Regions from separate parts of the Homo sapiens genome. Here region 2 is linked to region 1. Evidence: promoter capture Hi-C in human tissues and cell types (Jung and others, 2019). All regions are on one chromosome and are shown on one strand. The core of a region is centred on a gene start or on the middle of the fragment in contact, and the rest is flanking DNA. Distances in the headings are between cores, read along the strand shown. Region 1 holds the start of DAZAP2 (DAZ associated protein 2). Region 2 overlaps LARP4 (La ribonucleoprotein 4).

What was found. The method cuts DNA at HindIII sites, captures the fragments that hold promoters and counts their contacts. A contact is called where the count stands out against the background at its distance.
Region 2: a fragment that was not itself captured here is called in contact with the fragment with the promoter of DAZAP2 in region 1 in 1 of the 25 tissues and cell types used here (dorsolateral prefrontal cortex).

Annotation. Positions count from the first base shown.
Region 1 is chr12:51,236,613-51,243,093 of GRCh38, reverse strand. DAZAP2 (DAZ associated protein 2) reads right to left here and starts at 4,268. Exons shown (of 4, transcript NM_014764.4): 1 at 4,174-4,268; 2 at 2,633-2,751; 3 at 1,978-2,223; 4 at 1-764. The coding sequence starts at 4,186. The coding sequence ends at 636. RefSeq lists enhancers at 2,669-3,305, 4,022-4,271, 4,195-4,489, 4,581-5,218 and a silencer at 4,362-4,471. The HindIII fragment of the contact is 10,606 bases long and covers 2,226-6,481 here.
Region 2 is chr12:50,400,921-50,408,431 of GRCh38, reverse strand. LARP4 (La ribonucleoprotein 4) reads right to left here. Exons shown (of 16, transcript NM_052879.5): 1 at 7,404-7,511. The coding sequence starts at 7,421. Among named protein-coding and RNA genes, the nearest start is that of LARP4, 3.8 kb to the right of the region's middle. The HindIII fragment of the contact is 3,065 bases long and covers 2,622-5,686 here.

The DNA of each region.
Region 1 (6,481 bases), core at 3,019-5,518:
TTCAGAGGATCCTTGTGAAACACTAGTTAAAAGATGACGAGTGGGGAGAAGTGCGAGGAAAGAAGGAAATTAGTCTGACTGGCTTTCTGTCCTGCACCATTGATTCAATGGAGACTGGCGGGAGGAAATGGAAGACTAGGGTTGGAGATGGGATGGGTGGGGCAAGGGATGGAAAGGAAAAGGCAGACAACTAATGCGTTCCATTTATAACAAGTAATATATATCAAAGACTTAAAGGAGATTAAAGACCAATCAGAATAATTTGGCAACTTTAATTCTTAGGAAGATCAAAGTTCCCTCCAAACCTAATTTGATGTTTTATTACTAAAAGCAAAGACCAGTATGGTACAGTATTACTCCAGAGAAATTAAAGGAAAATCCTTAGGGCGGCTTCACCCACATTCATTTTATGAATGGATACCTCCCCTACCTCAAAATGCTTTAGGGAGGTACTGCTACCATTACATGGTTCCTTATTAAATTTGAAAAGTGCCTGAAAGTTTGGGCACCAGAAAGACACCCCAACAACATGTGTCTAAACTGCAACTTCAGGTTAATATGACTAAAGCAGTTACATTGTGAGAAGTGCTGAAGGTATGTGATGTCTTTCCCGGCACAGAGGTGGCCTTGGTTCCTCACCAGATGGTGTAGCCACCATCTGAACCACCCATGAAGAAGTTCCCCTTCCGCTGAGTTACGAGGACGTTGGCTCCCTGCATGACTGCAAGCTGAGCAGCATTGGGAGGGCATCCAGGAGGTGGAGGCTGAAAGGAAATGACATGATAGAATGGGCACAGGGCAGCTAATATAAGCGAAGGGGACATAGGGGAAGCAGAGGCCTGTTAGGATGAGGCAATGTGCTAACCAGCTGCGTTTTAAGGAGCTAGTTCCGCCACCAATTTGAGTTCTAAAGTAGGTCTATACTTTATGTGAACCCAAAGATACAAACAGGAAAGGGAGCCTACCACTCATTCAAAGGGTTCCAGCTCTAAGATGAAGCCTATGGCTACCTTCTGAACATGAACAGACCAGACCAACAGTCATTTTGAGGGTAGAGAACCACTGTCCTACTCACATTCCCAAAACAGGGACAGGGTGCCAGTCCATGTATGAATCCCACATGGTCCCTACATAGTTTTTAATTTTTAATTTTTTTTTTTTTTAATTTTTTTGAGATAGAGTCTTGCTCTTGTCGCCCAGGCTGGAGTGCAGTGGTGGGATCTCAGCTCACTGCAACCTCCACCTCCCAGGTTCAAGTGATTCTCCTGTCTTAGCCTCCCAAGTAGCTGGGATTACAGACGCCTGCCACCATGCCCGGCTAATTTTTGTATTTATAGTAGAGTCGGGGTTTCACCATGTTGGCCAGCCTGGTCTCAAACTCCTGACCTCAGGTGAGCCACCGTGCTTCGCCCTTACACAGTTTTTGAATGAACTACTGGAAAACTGAAGGCTCGCTAATGACACATTCACTTCATCTCTAGCATGTAGTTACTGAGCAGTCATTTGAGCTCTAAATCCCACGCACTGGGGAATTAAGTAGGAAAAAATGATAACTAAAATTGTTAATATCTTTCTAAAAGCTACTTACTAGGGATTATACATTCTACTTTTTTAATTATCAGGGTTCCTAGTGCAACACCATGCTGATGGCAAATATTAAGTAAATGGTAAATGCTTATGGAATGAATAAGGAGCATTACTAGACCAGTTCAGTGTACCACAATGAACTGGAAAAGCAGCAAGCAGGACTCGACAGACATGAAAACAAAAGAATCTGGTTAACTCAGCCCCCAGTGAGATGCTACTCACTTGCCACAGTTCTGCCCCCTCAAACACTTTCTGCCTGAGTATTGGATGTCAGTAGTTGTACCAACACTGGCAACTATCATCCAGAAATGGTAAGAGAATGAATATGAAGTCATTTCAGAAAGTTAAAATACACAAGGGCTGAGTTTCTTCTGATGAGGTCATACTCACAGGAATGTTGCCAGCAGTAGCCCCAGCTCCAAATCTGGCACCTGCATCATACCCTCCTTCCACCAGCACTGTGGAGCCAGGTGGATAGATGGGACCGACTGGATAATAAGCCATGGGGATTGTGGAACCTAAAGGCCCAACAGCCACAGACTGGGCCATGGGAAGATACAGAGAGGCTCCAGGAAATGCGGCTGACATGGTGGGGACTGTGGCAGCCCCTGGGTGCACAAAGCTCGGACGATAGAGCTAGAAGAGGCAGAAGAGAAGGCAAAATGTTACTTTATGACATTCCTATTTGAGATCTCTTTAATGAGCTAATTCTTAATTCTCCTTATGCAGGTTATACTTTTTGTAAGATTATACAAGTTGCCTTTCCACTGGCCTTCAATATTCTCCTGGATCACTTTCTGCTATAGCTAATGTTGGGCTCACAGAACGCAAATTCATCTTCTGCACCTTAGCCTGTGCCAAATAACACAAAATCATCAAATAATGCACTTTCAACTCCGACAAAAATTGCCAAATTATATAGTGTTTTAGATTATTCATGTTAGCATTTGTGAAGAGTAAATATGTGAAGTCAGATTTAGCTAAGGACTAAAGGACCACCCTAAGAGTATTCCCAGCTAGTTCAAATCTGGCAAACTGGAAGCACCTCTGAGTAGGCAGGTGGAGCATCGGTATAGGGTGGAGCCTGAGGAAGATGCAAGGTCTGAGGGTATACTGGATTCCCAGGAGGCTGCACAGGGTAGGTTGGCTGTGTTGGATATTGACCTGAAAGACAAGAAAAAAATGAAGGTTGCCTACTACACAGAGCTACCAAAATGAGGCAGGTCATATCGGGTAGCTAACTTAGTGGGAGCAAGCAGAAGGGGATTTGCAAATAGTCTGCCCCAGAGGGCCTGATTCCTGGAACTAAGAAAATATGCATTGTCTTTGCACCCTTAAAATGGAAGGTGCTGGATTCTAACGAGACAAGAAAGGCACTGCTCACTGCTCCTACTAACATACCGAAGTAAGGGGTTAAGTCTACCTGGGCCCAAGTTCCCTCCGGAATGCAGGACAGGTCTGGGGTTCTGGCCTGCTGCTGTTCTGGCTTATCAAGGGTGCCTCTGCTCTAGGTAGTCTCCACAGCCTGTCTACAACCAGCCCAGACTTCGTGGGTAACAGCAGTTCTGATTTTCCTTACAGATTACTATTCAAGGTCGACTTCCAAACAAAGGGTGTGAATGATGGAAGTGAACCGTGAGACTGGGAAAAGGGTGCAGGGCTGAGGGGTGAGGAGGAATATCCTCACTGGAAAAGCGGGGGATCAGGTTTGGTTTTTTGTTTGTTCTGAGACGGAGTCTCGCTCTTTTGCCCAGGCTGGAGTGCAGTGGCGCGATCTCGGCTCACTGCAACCTCCGTCTCCTGGGTTCAAGCAATTCTCCTACCCCAGCCTCCCGAGTAGCTGGGATTACAGGCGCCCGCCACCACGCCCAGCTGATTTTTGTATTTTTTAATAGAGACGGGGTTTCACCACGTTGGCCAGGCTGGTCTCGAACTCTTGACCTCAGGTGATCCGCCCGCCTCGACCTCCCAAACTGCTGGGATTACAGGCGTGAGCAACCTCGCTCGGCCTTTTTTTTTTTTTTTTTTCTATTCCTTTTTTACCCCCTCAACCTATTCCTGCGTTATGGGAATCATGTTCCGACAGACACACTGGTACAACCACAGAAAAGGGGAGAAGTTCTGATCCCGTCAGCGAAGGGCGAGGGGGTGCGAAGGGAAGGAAAAGAGACCTCACAGGCCCCGGCCCACGAACCAACTCCAGCAATTCAGTAGTTAAGTTCGGCCCCGCTGGGGGTTCCGGAGCGCGGCGCCCCGCCTCCGCCGGCTCTCCATTGGCCTACGCGAATGCCTGCGCTAGCGCTCTATTTGCTCCTGCGGATGCCCATCATGTCAAGCCCCCCCACCACCCGAGCCCGCAGCTCCAAACTGCGCCACAGAGTTTACGGAGGAAAGGGCCTGGAGGCAGCAAGCTGCCGTAATTTGGGTATGACGAAGGCGTCAGGCGCAGCGCCCTGGACTGCAGCCGGCCAAGGAGCATGGCGCAGCCCACCCCAAACCTGGCGTTTGGTGACCCTGGGCTCCGAATCCGCTCGCTCTGGGCCAGCAGTACTCCCCCCGACGGCCTCTGCCACCCTCGGTCCTTGCCTTTGCTGTTCATGGTGGTTGCGGGTCCGGTTTGTCTCGGCGTCGCGGACGGTTATTTTTTTCGTCCTCTTCCTGTTCGGAGCTACTTCCGTGTCACATGATGGTCCGTCCGCCTAGCGTCACCCGACGCCCGAGTGGCGCTGCCGCCGGAAACTCCGCCCCTGCTCCGGGCCTCCAGTCGGCCGCGGGAGGGTCCGCGCGGTCCCGCCCACTCGCCTTGGCCCCACCCCCTGCTCGTTTCTGTCCTCCCCCCCCCTACCGGTGTCCCTCAGCTGGAGAAAAACCAAATGCAGGTATTGTCTGGAAACAGGATCTTTTCTCTGTTGGACGCTCGGATGCAGAACGATGCAAGCATTCCCCGGAACCTTTTTCCACCTACACGCATTCACTCAAGGTCACCTCACCTTGGCAACCTTCCACGAGGGGCTTAGATTTCTGCAAATTTGTCGCACTGCCTGAAATCGGCTCCCCACACCTTAGTTTATCATGCGTCCCTCCCCACCAAGCCCAACTTAAGCTTCAGCTCTGTTAAAATTTATTTTGCCACTCCAGCTCACATGTATCCTTTCCTGAATGAGACCTGCACTGGAATCTTCGCTGCCCTGTCTTCCCCAGGACAGTCGTTGCCTTTCTCACGTACAGGAAGGGGTTATGTTTTCCGTGCTGTACGCAACACCTGGCACTGAAACTGACATAACTGCACTACCCATGGAGTGTTTGTGGCCCTTTCCTTTTTTTAGCACCTGTTGCAGGTGACCTGTATGGTACCTCTATTTTTCTCTATGTATGGCTTCTCTTTCTAACCTAATTATCCTTAAGGGCAAAGATGGCATCCTTTAGGGCAGCGATTAAGTGTTTTCTTTTCTTTTTCTTTTTTTTTTGAGACGGAGTCTTGCTCGCTTGCCCAGGCTAGAGTGCAGTGGGGCGATCTCACCACAGCCTCCACCTCCCGGGTTCAGGCAATTCTCCTGCCTCAGCTTCCTGAGTAGCTGGGCCTACAGGCGTGCGCCACCATTCCTGGCTAATTTTTGTATTTTTAGTAGAGACGGGGTTTCACTATGTTGGCCAGGCTGGTTTTCTTTCTTTCTAAAAAAAGTTTTAATTTTTTCTTTTCTTTTTTTTTTTTTTTTTTTTTTTGAGATGGAGTCTTGCTCTGTCGCCCAGGCTGGAGTGCAGTGGCATGATCTCGGTTCACTGCAACCTCCGCCTCCTGGGTTCAAGCAATTCTCCTGCCTCAGCCTCCCGAATAGCTGGGATTACAGGTGCCCGCCACCACGACCGGCAAATTTTGTATTTTTTAGTAGAGACGGGGTTTCACCATGTTGGCCAGGCTGGTCTCGAACTCCTGACCTCAGGTGATCCACCTGCCTCGGCCTCCCAAGGTTCTGGGATTACAGGCATAAGCCACTGCGCCGAGCCTTATTTTTATTTATTTATTTATTTATTTATTTATTTATTTATTTATTTATTTATTTTTGAGACAGAGGCTTGGTCTGTCGCCAGGCTGGAGTGCAGTGGCGCAATCTCAGCTCACTGCAACCTCCGCCTCCAGGGTTCTAAGCGATTCTCCTGCCTCAGCCTCCCGACTAGCTGGGATTACAGGCACGTGCTATTCATTTTTTAATACAGAGATGGGGTCTCCCTGTGTTGGCCAGGCTGGTCTTGAATTTCCAGCCTCAAGCGATCTTGCCACCTCCATTGTCCAATGATTAAAGGGTTAACTCTTAGGACCCAGGAACTCTCCTGGGCCTACCTCCTGCTCATGTAAACTGCCCTCAGATTGGTCAGGCCTACTTTACAGGTTGTTGGGTATTTTGCTTGTCACAGTGGGACCTGGGCATTGGGAAAACCAGGGCAGAGCCAAATGAGATTACTAACAAAAATGAAAGAGTTGCAGGCCAGTGCTTTCTCTGGCAGGTGGAATTAAGAAGTAAATGGTGGCTGGGTGCAACAGCTCACACCTGTAATCCCAACACTTTGGGCAGCCTAGGCAGGAGGATCGCTTGAGCCAGGAGTTCAGAACCAGCCTAGGCAGCATAGTGAGACTTCATCTCTACAAAAAAAAGTAGTAGTAATTAGCTACTTTCTTGAACAGGATCAAACTTTGGCATTTTCTTCATTCTCGTAGATTCCCCAATGAGATGAAGATGTTTATTTGGTCATTTATCAAACATTCTTTCTTACATTAATTTAACAAATATTTTTTGAGCACCTATTATGTGCCAGGCCCTGTGACAGGCACTAGGGAAATAATAATGAAGAGACAGGCATAGTCCATACTCTCATGGAATTTATGGTCTACCTAATG
Region 2 (7,511 bases), core at 2,905-5,404, 830 kb after region 1:
TGAGGTTGGGAGTTCGAGACCAGCCTGACCAACATGGAGAATCCCTGTCTCTACTAAAAATACAAAATTAGCCAGCATGGTGGTGCATGCTTGTAATCCCAGCTACTCAGGAAGGCTGAGGTAAGAGAATCACTTGAACCCGGGAGGCGGAGGTTGCAGTGAGCTGAGATCACACCATTGCACTCCAGCCTGGGCAACAAGAGAGAAACTCCAGCTGGAAAAAAAAAAAAAAAAAAAAAAAAAAGCAGAAAATCCTTTTCTCTTCTCTCAGTACATACAAACCCAATAGAACTTAACTCAACTCATCCCTGGAGTTTGGCATTTATGAATGCAGTTCACATCCTACCCCTAATAATATTCATCTAAAGCACTCTTCTGTCTTTGGTTTAGAGCCCGTCATTTAAAAACAGTAGAGATATTCTGTGAACCAAAGATTGGTTCAAGTGGTGGGACAAGGACACAGGTAAGACAGGAAAGATGAGTACATACTTAGATGTTTCTTTTTCTTACATTTACTTACACTTTTACATTATAATTTTTTTCAAAAGAGTAAGTGCAAAGTGCCTATTTGCATTTTAACATTTGTATTCCTTTAATTAATTTTCCTTTTTTTGAGACAGTCTCACTGTCACCCAGGCTGGAGTGCAGTGACATGATCTCGGCTCACTGCAACCTCTGCTTCAAGGTGTGCCTCAGCCTCCCAAGTAGCTAGGACTACAGGCACATGCCCAGATAATATTTTTATTTTTAGTAGACATGGGGTTTCGCCATGTTGGCCAGGCTGGTCTCAAACTCCTGGCCTCAAGTGATCCACTTGCCTCGGCCTCCCAAAATTCTGGGATTACAGGCATGAGTCACCCCGCCCAGCTGTACTCCTTTAAATGCTGCAAGTAAATGTGTATTTTAACATACTGCCATCTTCATTCCTCTTTTAAAACTTTTATTTGCCCAACCAAAAGTATACTCTCCAACTATAAAAAAAACTTTAAATAATTATAAATTGTTTGACTTGCCCTAAATCAGAGTATGTTAGTAACAAGGCTGAGATGAAAACTTAGAAGTTATACTTCTCTTAAATTAGTTTAAACCTTAAAGAAAACAAAGCTTCGGCCAGACGCAGTGGCTCACGCCCGTAATCCCAGCACTTTGGGAGGCCGAGGAGGGTGGATCACAAGGTCAGGAGTTCGAGACCAGCCTGACCAATATGGTGAAACTCCGTCTCTACTAAAAATACAAAAAATAGCTAGGCGTGGTGGTACGCGCCTGTAGTCCCAGCTACTCAGGAGGCTGAGGCAGAAGAATCGCTTGAACCCAGGAGGCGGAGGTTGCAGTGAGCCGAGATCATGCCACTGTACTCCAGCCTGGGCGACAGAGCAAGATTCCATCTCAAAAAACAAACAAAAAAACTGTTAAGATGGGCTGGGCGCGGTGGCTCAAGCCTGCAATCCCAGCACTTTGGGAGGCTGAGGCAGGTAGATCTGAGGTTAGGAGTTTGAGACCAGCTTGGCCAACATGGCGAAACCTCGTCTCTACTAAAAATACAAAAATTAGCCAGCATGGTGGCGTACGTCTGTAGTCCCAGCTATACTGGGGAGGTTGAGGTGAGAGAATCACTTGAACCCAGGAGGCAGACATTGCAGTGAGCCGAGATCATGCAACTGCACTCCAGCCTGGGCAACAGAGCAAGATTCTCTCTCAAAAAAACAAAAAACTGTTAGATGATACTTTTTAAGTTATATGTATTTCACAATTAAAAATATTTTTAACTGGTGGCATGAGCCTGTAGTCCCAGCTACTCAGGAGGCTGAGGCCAGATTGCTTGAGCCCAGGAATTTGAGGCTATGGTGTGCCATGACTGTACCTGTGAATAGCCACTGTACTCCAGCCTGGACAACACAGTGAGACCCTGTCTCTTAAAAAATAATAAAATAATAATTTAAAAAAATTTTTTGAGGCAGGGTCTCACTCTGTCATCCAGGCTGGAGTGCAGTGTCATGAACATGGTTCACTGCAGCCTCGATCTCCTGGCTCAAGTGATCCTCCCACCTCAAGTGTAGCTGGGACCACAACACATGCCACCAGGCCTGGCTAATTTTTTAAATTTGTTTGTAGAGGTTGGGGGTGGGGGTGGGGGGTGTCTAACTTTGTTGCCCAGGCTGGTCTTGAACTACTGGGCTCAAGCTATCCTCCCACCTCGGCCTCCCAAAGTGTTGAGATTACAGGCATGAGACACGTTACCCAACCTAAAATATGTTTTAATTATTTAAGAGTTATTAAAGCGTCCTAGGTCGTATGAAACTTAACTGCTACCTAAGTAAGTAAGTACAGTTGGCCCTCCATATCCATGAATTCCATATCCATAGGTTCTGTATCAGTGGAGCAATCAATCACAAATCAAAAATACTCAGAAAAAAAAATCATTGCATCTGTACTGACAATGTAGAGACTTTTTTCTTATCACTCTATAAATAATACAGTATAGCAACTATTTATAAAGCATTTACATTTTAATAGGTATTATAAATAATCTAGAGATTATTTAACATATACACAAAGATGTGCATAGGTGCTACGCAAATACTATGCCTTTTTATGTAAGACTTGAGCATCCAAGGTTTTTGGCATCTACAGAGGGTCCTGGAACCAATTTCCCACAAATACTGAGGGACAACTGTCTTCATTTTCAGGGAAAAACTCAAACAGAGACAGAAACCCAATTTCAGTAGTCACTGCATACCCACCCTTCCCAGTCTCTAGTTTTAATTTTTTTTATTTAAACAAAAATTTCAGCTTGAGCAAAAAAGCAAAACCCTGTCTCTACAAAAAATACCAAAAAAGAAAAAAATTAGCCAGGCATGGTGGTACATGTCTATAGTCCCAGCTACTTTGGAGACTGAGGTGGGAGGATCACTTGAGCTGGGGAGGTGGAGGCTGCAGCAAACGAGACTGTGTCTCAAAAAATTAAAAATTAAAAAAAAAACTGTAAATAAAAGAGAGAAATGAAAAAATTTTTTTAAATTACTATCTGCCTCCTTAGGGCTCACAAGTTTTAAGTAACTTGATAGCATTCAGATGAAGGTAGTACACTGCAGTTTCAAACTTACAAACAATTTGTTGTAAAAGAATTCATGGCAGGTCATGTTTGATGACTTTGTGAATCATCCAAACTTTTACCTCTTTCCAGAGAGGGACATTGTTTGTTTCTCCTTCAGAACAGAGGTGGAAAAAAAATCTGCCAGGCGCGGTGGCTCACGCCTATAATCCCAGCACTTTAGGAGGCCAAGGCGGGCGGATCACTTGAGGTCAGCAGTTCGAGACCAGCCTGGCCAACATCGTGAAACCCGTGTCTACTAAAAATCAGGAAAAAAAAAAAAAAGGCCAGGCATGGTGGCACATGCCTGAAGTCCCAGCTACTAGGGAGGCTGAGGCAGAACTGCTTGAACCCGCCAGGTGTGGTGGCTCACGCCTGTAATTCCAACACTTTGGGAGCCCGAGGTGGGCGAATCATGAGGTCAAGAGACCGAGACCATCCTGGCCAACATGGTGAAACCCCATCTCTACTAAAAATACAAAAATTAGTTGGGCGTGGTGGCATGCGCCTACAGTCCCAGCTACTCGGGAGGCTGAGGCAGGAGAATCACTTGAACCCAGGAGGTGGAGGTTGCAGTGAGCCGAGATGGCGCCACTGCACTCCAGCCTGGGCAACAAGAGTGGAAACTCCGTCTCAAAAAAAAAAAAAAAAAAAAAAAACTGCTTGAACCCAGGAGGCGGAGGTTGCAGTGAGCTGAGACTGCGCCACCCTCTAGCCTCGGTCTCAGAGCGAGACTCGGTCTCAAGAGGAAAAAAATAAAACAAACCAATAATCTACTGAAGTCAATATAGTTGGTCTTGCTCTGTCACCCGGCCTGGAATGCAGTGGCACAATCACGGCTCATTCCAGCCTTGACCTCCCATACTCAAGCGAAACTCCTGCCTCTGCCTCCCTAGTAGCTGGGACTACAGGTACATGCCACCACATTGGGCCCAAGGCCAGGTTTTAAAAAGTTGCATCTAAGTATTATTTACATAGGATTGATTCCTTGTCTGCAATATATTCTACTCCAATACAAGTAGGTGGTTGATGAGTTCTAATACAAGCTTCCATGTTCACTAGCTGTATAAACTTAGGCAAGTTTAAATTATATGTGCCTTAGTTTCTTTTTTTTGAGACAGAGTCTCACTCTGTTGTCCAGGCTGGAGTGTAGTGGTGCCATCTCAGCTCACTGCAACCTCTGCCTCCCAGGTTCAAGCGATTCTCCTACCTTAGCCTCCCGAGTAGCTAGGATTACAGGTGTGTGCCACCACCTCTGGCTAATTTTTGTATTTTTAGTAGAGATGGGGTTTCACCATGTTGGCCAGGCTGATCTCAAACTCCTGACCTCAGGTGATTTGCCACCCACCTCAGCCTCCCAAAGTGCTGGGATTACAGGCATGAGCCACTGCGCCCAGCTGCCTTACTTATCACTAAAATGGGGATACTAACACCTCATAGAGATATTGAGACTTAAGATGTACAGATATCTATATATGCAAAAACATCAAACGTTCCTGACACAAAGCACGATACAAGTATATACTACTACTGTTGTTATTGTTATATTGCTATTATCTATCCTACTGATTCTAGTGGGATAGTTAAGCTGGAATCTCTCCAGAAAAATACACATAAGTAAAAGGTATTGAACACAACTGCAGAGGACCCAGGGATCCCAGATTAACCCTGCCAAAGATGATCCACAAGCAAGTTGGTTTAGTAAAGCAGTTCTTAACCTCTTCTGTGACACAGACCTCTTTAGTAGTCCAATTAATCTATGGATCTCTTCTCCGTTTTTTTACATTTCTAAAATATATAGGATCACAAAGTAAACCAATTATATTGAAACGCAGTTATCAAAATATTTTAAAATGTCTAATATAGCAATACGTTAACAATATTTTTGACATATAGCAAGTAATGAGCATAAATATTTCAAGATAACTGCAAAAGCTGTAATACATGTAAAAAAGTGATTTGTCTTGGTGACAAGGTCACATACACTGTTGCTGCCATTAACATTTAAAGAATTTTCACTTCTTTTCCATTTAGATTTCAGTTAGAAGCTAGAGAAAATAAACACGCAAATTTTTTTCCTCAACCAAGCTTAGGTACTTACTTCCTCAATTCTATCCAAAAACCTAGATTAAGAACCTTTGACTTATGGGAAAGTACAAAAATAATTTTGAAGCCAGAAATTTATGTTCTAGAAGTCAGACTTCAGACTTTAGCCCCCACATTATTTACACTTGAATGACCTTAGACATCTAACTTCTGAGCTTTGGTTCTCTCACTGAGAATAATTCCTCTATCATGAGGTTACAGGGATCAAATATTAGTTAACAAAACGCCAAACGACCAACATGTTGTTTTTCACTGATTTTAATACCACATATTCAGCCCCAAATATTTAAAGACAGTTAATTTTCAATAAAACTCATATGAGAAAATGAAGAATGACATAGTGACTCACAAAGAAAATGATTAATGGAGATACAACTTTTAAACACTAGTTTGGCGAGAGATACGATAGAATTTGTCTAACCTGGGGAGTCGGACAGGCCTGAATTGCTAACATCCCGTCCATGATTTGACATCAGCATGACCTGGATCTAAATCCCAGTTAAACTACTTTACTTTTACTAAGTAAAGTTACTTTAACCTCTGGGGCTCGGTTTTGTCATCTGTAAAACATATTAAGTATCGCTTTAGAGACAGGAGAAGACCTAGTTTAAACAATAAATGGAGCTGTTATTAAAACTTACATTTTAATAAAGCCAAAGGAATCAATTTGGAAGTCAAAAGTATATTGTGGAGTTCCTGTCAATATAAACTTCACAATCTTTCTTCTGCCCAGCAAAACACACACTTAAAACCTGTGGTATTTACATAGCATAACATTCCTTAAAAAAACTGGCTGGCACTGGCTTAAAATCTTATCTGATTTCTTATTCTGCCTAAGGAAAACAACAATGAGGACAGAAAACAGTAAACAGAATGAGTTCAGTAATTTTAAGTCTTTTCATGATTTCCCCGGAATGTTCCAATGAATGTTTATTATGAATGTTAGATACACTCTAATGTAGCAGTCTTTTAAAAAACTAATTTAAAGATATCAAGCTTATCGGCGACACAATATCAGTTAGTTTAAAGAGAAAAAAAAACCGTAAAATCATTTATTTACTTTATGCTGGAATATTACGGAGTAAGATTTTCCCACAACCCGGAAAAAAAAATCTGCCATAGGCTGGCCCCGGCTCCTAGATTCATTATACAACCCGTAAATTCCTTCCCTCATTGAAAAGATTCTTCTTATGGGCATAGTTAACAAATGCCAAGTTGCGAAGTTGCAGCTTTGCTGGTTTGACGTTTTCACAATGTAAGAACAATATGATCTGGAATCTACTCAAAGCATTAGCCAGGCAGTCAGCTGACGCTCACTGCACACAAGAGGACAGAATTAAGGGAAATTAAATTTCGTATTTCTGTAAGGCAGGTATCCAACTCTATCTTGAAAACTAAAATAGGCCAACAGCAGACGTTCTAGTTTAAGTAATAAAAGTGTCTCATTGTTCAAATAACATTACAAAAAACGGCTTTTCCCGGAATAAGTTTCCCTCATTCTTGGAATTTTCCTTGTAAAGGGCTTTTAATCGGTTCATAGAACCAACCCTTCATCACGCAGCTGCTGCTTGAGTAACTTTTACAAAAGGTCAAAGCGGTGCCTTTCAAGGCTTCCAAACCCTACTGGCTTCTCCTCGATTCAAAGTAACTCGCTTTCACCCACAGAACGTTCCAGAGACCTAGGGACGGGGCCCGGGCAGAATTTGGTGGAAGTTGCTCAAAAGAACTTTTCAATTTTCTTTTCAAAATACTTACCGCATTTCACCTTTCTCCATCCGTGGCCCCACATGTTGCTCGCCTCCCTCCCAGAGGGGCCCCGCGAGGCCGCGCTCGGCCCCCGGAACGCGCCCACCTGATTACCCTCTCCTCCCTCAGACTCCGCCCCCCAACCCCCCAATGCTGCCTCCTTTAGGAGGTCCATATGGGACACTTTCCCCTTCCTCTGAACCTCACCGCCACACCAGAACAGCCCTCCGTTTTTCTCCTTCAATTCTTCTCCACTACGGGCCTCACCTCCCATAGCTTCCTAGAGTGTTGTGAGCGCGCAGAGGGAAGCTGCAGGCCTGCTCGGCCCAGGTGCTGTGTCAGCCTATCTGCCGGTTCCGCGGCGTGTACGGCCCGGAAAGTCACATGGCGGTGGGACCGGCCGGCGCCTCTACACTCCTGCTCTCCTAAGAGCAGGACGAGACTAGCATAATGCACTCACCTCCACGAAAAGCAACATGTCGTCCTCTGCTCAGCCCAATCGTTCCCGCCGCCGCAACTCCAACTGGCTCACAGGCCCGCGCCCCAATTGCTAGGATAAGGACACACA